Linked DNA regions of Homo sapiens: region 1 is linked to region 2. The links are contacts of gene promoters, found by promoter capture Hi-C in human tissues and cell types (Jung and others, 2019). All regions are on one chromosome and are shown on one strand. Each heading gives the region's core, a stretch centred on a gene start or on the middle of the fragment in contact. The rest is flanking DNA. Distances are from core to core; before and after follow the strand shown. Region 1 overlaps LOC124900354 (a long non-coding RNA gene). Region 2 holds the start of MYEF2 (myelin expression factor 2).

Region 1 (4,961 bases), core at 584-3,083, 210 kb before region 2:
ATGTTTATTAACCGTGTGTTCCCATGCCTGAGTCTCACTTTCTTCATGTATATGCAGATAATAATGACAACTACTTCGTAGATATTTGAGGATAAAATAAGCTACTTTTGAAGCACTTGGAACAGAACCTGGCATCTAGTATGTGCTTAGTAAATACTGGCCTCTAATATAACAGGCTGTCATAGAGTCCCAACAGGCTTCATTCACAACTGCAGGAAAGATTGAAAGTCAGTGCCCTAGTCTGTGAACTCCTTGACGGAGAGATCATGCACGAATCTTCGTAATTCAACCACACAGTATGCAGAAGGTGCTCAAAATTTTTTGAGAATGAATGAATGAATTGTGAATTGAGTTAACAAATACCAAGTTAAATAATGTCACTTTTTAAGAGGTCACAAATGGAGCAAACTCATTTCTTGAGAACATGGCTGGGAATAAGGAAATGGGACAAATAGATGTTCTGAAAATGGCACATAAAAGCTCACATACTTTATTCAGAGGAATCATAAAATGTGCAAGCTGGACTGGACCTTGGTGATGATCTATTACAGCTCCGTCATTTTGTAGATGAGAAAAATGAGCCAGCCCTCAGAACTGATTTCCTCTCCCTTTATACATCATTCTCAGAAGCTTTGTTATCTGGTTTCCTGGCCAAAGCACAATGAAAGGAGCAAATTTGGAGAGGAAAGGGAGAGAATTAGACCTATGTATACCTATGATAATTATCAAGAAATGAAATTCGGGCTTACGACAGGAAAGCTACATAAAAAGCAGACATAAAAACTGCAAAATCACCGGGGCCTGCAACATTGGCACGGCTGCAAAGGTGCTCACTCCTCAACAGACCCTCAGCACCTGGCTGCGAGACAGCCCCAACCATGGAAAAGATTGCATGATGCTTTATAAAAGCAAGATTTTCAAGAAATTTAACTTTCTTTCATTCCCAATCATTTCTATTGGGGGCTCCTATCTCATCGAGTTGATTAGGAATTCAAATCTCAAGCTTTTATAGTATCCTCCCACCCATTCTAAGGTTCCATCAGAGATTCCAAGAAAGGGTCAATAATGTCAAAACATTGGGGTAAGTGGAGAGCAGGTCACCAGGTCCTGGGCCATGTGCACACCCAGGTTAGTAGTGAGCTCTCTGTGGCTGGCCAGCTCCCCAACACCAGCTGTGGCTCGCTGCTGCTCTGACCTGGTCTTAGAGGGTAAAGATCTTTCTTTACAGTCAGGCTGGGTGCACACTCAATGCCTGTTTCCTTTCCAGCCTCATGATGTCTTTTTGTCCTCGTCCTCTACCTCTGTCCTCGGCTCCCCTGCTTTCGCTCCCTACCTCCTCTTCACTCCCTCCTATCTCCTCTCTCTGCCCAACAGTGCCACTATTTGTAATCTGGGGGATTACCCTTCTTTTTTCATGGCTCTGTATCCCCAAATCCTCTTTCGTTTGCCTACTCTGTGAGTTCTCTGTGTTGTTCTAAAGGCCTCGGTTTGAGGAATACAAAAGCCAGACAGACGTATAGGCTACTTCGGCCTTCCACCCTGACACCTTCTTACTCTGAGACAATGAACCAAAGAAGGCTGACCCTGCTTGGAATGGGGAAAGGAAGAAAGAGAAATGCAGGGAAGAAAAAACTTTGGGAAAGGAAAAATGGATGCACAAAAAATCAAAAAAGGAGTTATTTCAAATGTTATCAAAATGTTATCCCACCACATATGTAACACTAATGCACAGTCTAGTATTCAACAGAGTTTGTGTTCAGTTATCCAGAAAATGCATATCTGTGCAATAGTTTATTCTCATGCATCCTAAGTAAATAAGTACTTATTTATATACTGTAATATGCATGTTACTCTATGCCTATAAGAGCACTGAGCATCAAGTTCCAAACGTGTTGCATGGAACACTCAGTACTCTCAATTTTGACTCAGGAAGAAAAGTCTTCTGTAATCAAAGCAATTTTTAAAACACCATTCTTCTTGGAGATTTAGAAAGTATCTTATAATGTTAAGGAGTCTGAGAAGTCTAAACTTGGTCCTGCCCTATTTGACTGCAGGAACTTGATTGGATTAACATCCCTTGGAACTGATGTTATAAGGAACACACATTAGAAAGATCTGTCTGATTTTCATGCTGATGACCAACTCAAGGTGAAGAAAGGAAAGAAGTTTTCTGTGGTGTGTATTGAAAACAGAGATGCAGATTATGTGAGTCACCACTTCCCAGGGGGCAACAAGCAATAACCCCTGGAACAGGGAGCCCTTATTTTCAACCTCAGCCTGAAGGGTTTTGTAGCCCAAGGCTCTACCTGCCAAAGCTGTCAGGTCCACTTTCTAGTGAGTAGCACAGGGGATGCTGAGGCTCATGTTGCAGAGCCGCAGAGAGTGAGGCCAGAGCACAGGCCCTTGCTTGGAAGTCACCCTCTCTCCAGCCAAGATGATAGCTATTTGGATCTTCCAAAGTCATTACAGCCCATACCTGTTTGGATGCACAAGAAATCAGGAAAAAGAGTTATGTCAGATGTTGGTGTCTCTGGCATTATGTTCAAACAGAAAAAACAGTTATGTGGATTACCTCATCTTCCCTTTGTGCAGGTAGGAAAATGCTCAAACTCAAAAAGAAATGGCAGAATTGTTCTCCGAAAAGTTGAAAGGCAACAAAAACTTATGTAATAATAGGTCAAGAAAGGTGCTAAAATGTTCCAGCAGCTAAAACAGTAAGCTCATCATAAAGTTACAGGCACCAGTTCAGAGCCTCCTGACACATACTCTATATACTTGTAATTTCAGTTCAAGAACGATTATATGGATAGCTCATATGTGTTAATATTTTCCTAGGCACTTTAAGGATCATAAAATACAAAATTCAAACTTTTTACTTTGCCATCTAAGGCTCTTCATGATATAGCCACGGTCTAAGGAACTTGGAACCATATCTTGAGTCTTCCTTTTTTATACCCTATGTTCCAGGTTTAGAAGTATTTCTGCAGTTCCTTAATCTCATTGTATTTTGTTTTGTTTTTCACCATTCCATGTTACGGTGTTTCTGCCAAGGATTCCCTTTTTCTCCTGCCCACACTTCAGTCCATTGAGCAAATTTCTATTTCTCCTCCAAAATGCAAATCAAATATTAGCTCCGTTGTGAAGACTTTGTAGAGTGGCTTCTGTTCCCCAGAGATTTGGTTTGTTTGTCTTCTTGGTTCTCATTTATGTTATAAATATATCTATGGTAGAAAGCATAGTAGAATTTAAAAAGTAAATGAGGTTGGGCTCCTGCTCTCACACTTGGCTGTATAATATCAGGTGAGTTGCCTAACCTTTTTCTATACATTAACTGCCTCATCTTTAAATTGTGAATAATTCCCCCTTCACGTGAAGTTTAAGTGATGTAAGAATAGGTTTTGCACTGTGTCTATTACATATGAACATTCAACCAAATCTTTGGTTATTACATCGTAATTAGTGGTTTTCCACTCTTTGTGCAAGTCTCAATTTGAAGTGCTGCCATATTTGTTTATATTCTTAATTCTTAGCATAGTGTTTGACACACAGTAGGCACTCAGTAAACAGCTTCAATATAACCATTAATTAGCTAATTAATTGACGGAGAGATGAATGGGTTATGTTTCTAAGGGGGCATAATCTCTAGGAAACAAGGCAAGAATAAGGTAATAAACACACTGGGACAATGGGCTCTGAAGGTCAACAAGAGTTCAGAGCCATGAAATGCAAGACAGGCCATGGAGCTCAAAGAAGGCACCTGGGGGAGGTCCAAATGAGCACCTGTAGAAAGGACAGAATTGAGGACATAATTTAGTAGAAAGAATCAGGTAAAGCATTCTAAGCTCATTATACATGAAGGCCCAGAGCTGTTTCAGGATGAGGGAGGCCGATGCATAGTTGAAGTCTTTGGAAGAAAAGATCCACTGGGGAGGGGGATCTGAAGATCCTGGTGATGAGCCGTGAAAGGATGAGAGTGCAGCCTGAGTCCTCAGAGACAGTCAGGGTTGAGGACACAGTGGGAAGCCTGCCCAGTCGGACAGGAAAGCACCACTTTCTCAGACTAAAGTGTGGAAGAAAGAATGGCTTTGGAGGCCAAAAATACATAACATAGAAGGAGAAGGTGGGTAAGAAAGCTCATGTGTTAGATGGACTTGATCTTCTTAGTGACATAGGAAGCAAAATTGTCTTCTGAGCTAGTGGGGATGGGAATATAAAGAAGTGATCCAGTAGACTGGTCAAGAACACATACCCTACCCCCCAGTGTCGAATCCCAGCACCATCACTGACCCGCTGGGTGGCCCCAGGAAAGTTCCTTTAACACCTCGTGACTTCGTTTCCTCATCTGTAAATGGGAAAGATCATAATACTATTTATCTTTTAGGGTCACTGGGATGATTTAATGACTTAATAATTGTTGAGCACACATGGAATAGCCTGGAATACATTAAGTACTATAGTAGTATTTGCTATTGTTGTTGTTATTATCAAAGGAGCCTTACAGATGTTAGGACATGATTGGACTAGCCATTATGAAAAGTGCCCTGGGAAATCAATAGGAAATCATTACTGGAAAACACATGAATATACAGTGGACATGGCCAGTGTGATCCTGTGTTTATCTTCAGCAAGCAGGGAACAGAGGCAGAGAGCAGAAAAAGTAGGAATTTCTTCCTGGGGGGATTGGGACAAAGCAGTGTAGACAGAATGCAAAATTAGAAGACAGGATTCTAGAGTAGTGATGAGGACATTAAATAGCAAATGTGAAGTTCCAGCCAGGCAAGGAGTCAAATGAAGCTAAGTGTGGACTAATGGACTGATTATGGGCCCATGGAGTGATTCTTATCCATTTATTAAGGATAAAGTTAATGGATTTTATGCTGTAGTATAGGCAGTCTCTACTGGAAGTGTCTATTAAAGTTGGCAGTGAGAACCAAAAAGTTATTTGGCGAGGAATAGGTGTG
Region 2 (5,053 bases), core at 1,119-3,618:
AAAGTTCACTTCTGCATTTCTTCCACAAATATTTACTAGGCCTTAAGAATACAAAGAAGAATAAGACATAGTGGTCTCCCACCCTCAATAACTATGGATTAACCTCAGCAAATATTATTTCAATCCTGATGACAAGCAGTACTCTGTTCAATTCCAACCAATACATAATTTGGGGCAATATTATGGTAATTTTTATAATCAACAATGAATTATTTTTATTATTAAAAGTATATGGTAATCAACTCAAGGTTTATGTATTGGGGTTGTTATCCACTCCTACTAGTTCACGAAGTAAAAAAAAAAAAAAAAAAAAAAAGGACTAGGTCGCTAGTTATTCAGTTTGAATGACTCATGCTGGACCATCACAAATCTTCTTATGGAATAGACAGTAAGAGAAATCCCTGAGAGTAAATTGGACTCGATTCAACTTCTGGGAAAAAGAGAAAGGGAGAGGCGAATTATAAGCAATATGGAAATAATCTGTATTTACTAGTAATATTTCTTCATTTCTTCACCTTATATTTTTCTCTTCCTAAATTAGAAAAGGATTCTTTCTCCACCTTTCTCCTTTCTCTTTTCCTGTCTTGCTAAATCATGAAGAGACTTTAGAAGGGAATAGAAAATCTGATGGAGGTTTAGATACCAAACTTCCCCTATATCAAAACTAATCATACCCAAGTATAGGAGGGCTTCTCTCTGTAATTCAAGGCTGCACTTTTTGTTCAGGAGAAAAGGTGGCATGTATACTCGTGTTTAGATATGAATAGCACATATTTTTAAGTTTATCATTCCACCGGTTTTCATTTCTATTTTTAATGCCAAATTCCAGAAAGCCCACATTTTGGCAAGCATGGTAGAAAGCACTTCATTCCCTTTCTGGTTCCTCAATTACTGAGGTGCACCACTCTTCATCCAGGAATAAACTCCACTAAGTTCCAATCTCTTATACCTGCACCTCTATTCTCCTAGAAGATGCTGCCGATCCTGTTCAAACTCATTTGAGAGCAAGAGTGTCAAAGAGCTGGGGAGAGCTACCCCATCTTTTTTGCCACCAACTTTTACACAGACTGGTCCAGTTCTTACCATACAATTTCAAACATGCTTATACAAAGGTCAGAAAGACCTTTCCCTTGTCTATTTTACTGTGAGCATATATCTATTGCTTTCTGCTCTGAGGCATAACAGAGAAGGAAAAGGATGTTTTCACTTAATTATTAACATACTTTCAACTTCAGGTTTAAGGAGGTAGGCATATGAAAGTAAGCGCTTAACTTCATATCCTCCCACAGGACAGGAACAAAGGAGAGCATAACATTTCCCTAGAACCAGAAATTATTATGGATTGGGGTCAACTAAATTCTTTATAGGCACTGGTGACAGCTGCGACCTTAAAAGTCTTCCTTCATTTGGGAAAAAAAAAATCTTAACCATCTATTATACCAAACTTAAGATAATCATACACTGAGTTAAAAAAAAAAATACTCTCCACAGCTGACGCACATTACCCAGTGGGAAGGGAAGCCACGCACATCGCACATTTCCCTTTTTAAAGTACGTCTAGCCAATTCAAGAGTAACACAAAACATAGAGTCTAACAGCACATTATTAAACTTCCTCTCGGTATAAATCAGTTTAAAAATGAACATACACTTTAGAAAACAACAAAACACTAAACTTGTGAAGCTCAGAAAGAAGCCAGGAATATTCCTTTTAAATATGTTCTCGGTGGTTAAGAGGAAATGTCCGATGATGTCATCCCTAGATACTCCCTAGTGATGAACACTAACTACTGGTCCTTAAAGGGGGACCATTTTCCTGCAAACCGTGGCGGTCGCTGAGCTTTGCTCAAAGATTCTTTAACCAAAGTCAGGGAAGAGGGGTGTTCGCTGTCTCGGGCTAGAAATCAGGGAAGAGCGCTGGTCCCCGGGCCCCCAGCCCCGGCTCCCAGACCACAGGCGGCCAGGCCTGGGGCGGGCGGGGAAGGGCCTGGGAGCGGCCCAGCTGCACCTGCTCCTCAGGAAGCCGATGGCCCGGGGGCGGGCCGGGGTCTGGGGGTGGTTGTCCCCCATCGGGGCACAGCCCGGCCTCTAGCCGCCCGGTAGACTCCCCGCCCCCCACCTCGCCCCGGTTCCCGGAGGAAAAGACAATACATTTTAACGCCATTGGAGCTGCTGCTGTGCTGCGGCTGCTGCTTCTCCGCCTCCGCGGGGTGCGGCTCTCGCCGCGGCTCGCCCGGCGGCTCTGCGGGCTGCAGGTGCGGGCTGTCGCCACCAGTGGCCCCGGGCACCTCGGCCTTGTTGGCGTCCGCCATCCCGCCGCCGCTGCCTCCGCCTCGGCCGCCTGAGCTGAGGGGCTCCGAGCGCGACAATGGCGGCTGCCGGGGAAGCGGTAACGGATCCCGATTTGAAAAGGCCCCGAGCGCTCAGTAACCCGGATCTCGCGAGAACCGGTCGAGACTGGGTGACTGGGAGATGGTGTGTGCCGGGTGCGGGGGGTGGGAGTGCGGGGGGAGGGGAGCCATGGGAGCTGGGGTCAGGGCCGCTGTTGCTGCAGTCGGCCCTACACCTGCCTGGGAGGGCTGGACCAGTCCTGAAAGCCCCCGGTGGTGGTGCCATGTCTGCCCACCAGCCCGCCTGTCGCTTGGCACCAGTGGAGTCTTCGCTTGCAAAGCGGGATTAGACATCAAAGCCCTAACACCCAGACTGTTCAATTCATTCCAGGTAGGGGCAGTTAAAGAACACACCACTTTGCATCTTTAAAGACTTCTTGCAAGTCCTCAGACTGCCTTTAGAAATCCTTTGAATTAAGCAAATATAAGTCTCTTGCCATTTCAATGCCTAGGCACCCTTCGGACATTCCATAAATAGTTATTGATGACTGATTGCAATTCACCAAAAGGAATGACTTTGAATTTCTTTGAGAATTATTTGTTCTTAGGGGGTGAGGATTTCCCAGGAACTCAACTATCAGCTTAGTAAGAGAAGACTGCAGTTTTTCTCTGGACATCAATCAATATGGGGAATCCATAATTATAAAATATCGTCTACTAGATGGGCTAATAATGGACATTTGAGGTTTTGACTGTGTGTTTATTGTATACTGATGGAAATTCTAGTGAAGTAGTTAGTTATACGCTCTCAAATTTAATTGCCATATGGAGTTTTAAAATACAGTCGTAGATTTTTCCCCCTAAGTATGAAAAGGAAACCGTTAAATTTAATCAACTCCTAATTCTCGAGTACTATAATCTTTCACATTGACATAACCTTTTTCAGCTGAAAAGTTTAAATGCCTTCCCAAATTTTTTTTCCATGAAGAAGCAAACACGTACAGTTTAGTCACTTTGCAGAATATCATACACACATCAGTGGTAAAGTTATAGTTAGAAAGTAATACTCAAATAACATAATTTCATCTTCGGCTTTTCAATGTGTAGTTTCCTACCCTCTACCGAAAAATACCAAGTTCAGCTACTTCATCACACACACACATACACACACACACATACACAAACACACACACACATAATCAGAACATTTTAATGATAAGAATGCTATTGTAGTTGCTGTATAAATTGTTTCTCATTCAACTCTGAGACATAAGATTTATAATCGCAGAAAGGGCATTCAATTGTGACAGACAAAATCTGGGTTAGAACCCCAGCTCTGCCTCTTTTTGCCCATAACTCCCTGGGCAAGTCACCTCATTTCTCAATCTCTCTACAATAAATAGGGATAGCAATACCGACCTTACAGGATTGAGGTGAGGATTAAAAGAAAGCACTTTATGTAGGAAAAAGTGCTATATGAACATAATGTAATATTACAATTCTCTATCTCCCTAAGCTCAGCAGGGTTTTAGTCAAAGACAAGCCAAGTGATTTTTCCCACAGCACTAAATTATAAGTACTTTCAAAATAGTCATCATTCTGTTATTCTTTTGCTATTGTTGAATTCAGTATGAAAATTGAACCCCACCATCACCAGTACAATATATTCTTGCAAAAATCCTTTAATCAACTCAATGCAAGATTTTTTTAAGAGGCCTTTATGCTTCAAACAGAGTAGTAGGTACATGAGGAATACAAAAATGAGTACAGCCCTGTTGGGAGAGGGCTAATGTAAAAAGTACTATTTAAGTGCTATAATACAAATAAAAGCAAAGTATAATTAAAAAATTATTTACAAAAACAGGAGACTGGCCCACATGCCTTAGTTTGCCAATTAAAATATTCCATTAAAATATTTATCTTGATTACTGAGTTTTAACTTTTGTACCCAAGACAAATGCCTCACCCGCTGTAGCTTGGTTCTAGTCCTGATAAAGAGCAGAGGTTAATTCCTACTGAGAGATTGGTGAGGGCCTTATAAAAGAGCTGGATCTTAAAAGACAAAGAATTAAGGCAACTTCTGAAGGGAAGAGAATGATTAATCTTTACCATTCCATCTGACTGCTCAATAGATTGATCTTTCCTTCCTTTCTTGCTATTAATTGCAAAAGATAAAGAAAAAACTATTAATATTCTGTTGCTGAATTCCATTTCTGTATTTGCTTGTCTTCCTCTCTACTGTTTTGGTTTGTTTTGTTTTGTTTTGTCTTTTTTGAGATGGAGTCTCGCTCTGTCACCCAGGCTGGAGTGCAGTGGCGCCATCTCTGCTCACTGCAAGCTCCACCTCCCGCGTTCATACCGTTCTCCTGCCTCAGCCTCCTGAGTAGCTGGGACTACAGGCGCCCGCCAGCAGGCCCGGCTAATTTTTTGTATTTTTAGTAGAAACAGGTTTCACCGTGTTAGCCAGGATGGTCTCCATCTCCTGACCCTGTGATCTGCCTGCCTTGGCCTCCCAAATTGCTGGGATTACAGGCGTGAGCCAGAGCGCCCGGCCTTGGTTTTTTGTTTTTTGTTTGTTTGTTTTTTAGTGCATGTAGGTACATTGAAAAATTCTTAAGTGATGCTCAAATTCTTATTTTCCCATGATTCACATTGCAAAAGCATTATCCTTTGCAATTGCACAAAATATATTACTGGTACAACTTCACATAATCACTTAGTTTT

The links. The method cuts DNA at HindIII sites, captures the fragments that hold promoters and counts their contacts. A contact is called where the count stands out against the background at its distance.
Region 1: a contact is called between a fragment that was not itself captured here and the fragment with the promoter of MYEF2 in region 2, in 1 of the 25 tissues and cell types used here (mesenchymal stem cells).

Annotation. Positions count from the first base shown.
Region 1 is chr15:47,966,488-47,971,448 of GRCh38, forward strand. The region is part of intron 1 of LOC124900354 (a long non-coding RNA gene); the gene reads left to right. The region is part of intron 2 of LOC102724553 (a long non-coding RNA gene); the gene reads right to left. Among named protein-coding and RNA genes, the nearest start is that of LINC01491, 120 kb to the left of the region's middle. The HindIII fragment of the contact is 4,615 bases long and covers 1-4,141 here.
Region 2 is chr15:48,175,927-48,180,979 of GRCh38, forward strand. It overlaps MYEF2 (myelin expression factor 2), which reads right to left and starts at 2,369. Exons shown (of 17, transcript NM_016132.5): 1 at 2,151-2,369. The coding sequence starts at 2,311. It also overlaps a transcript of CTXN2 not described here. RefSeq lists silencers at 1,711-1,880, 1,911-2,340, 2,511-2,610 and an enhancer at 2,313-2,964. The HindIII fragment of the contact is 10,011 bases long and covers 1-5,053 here.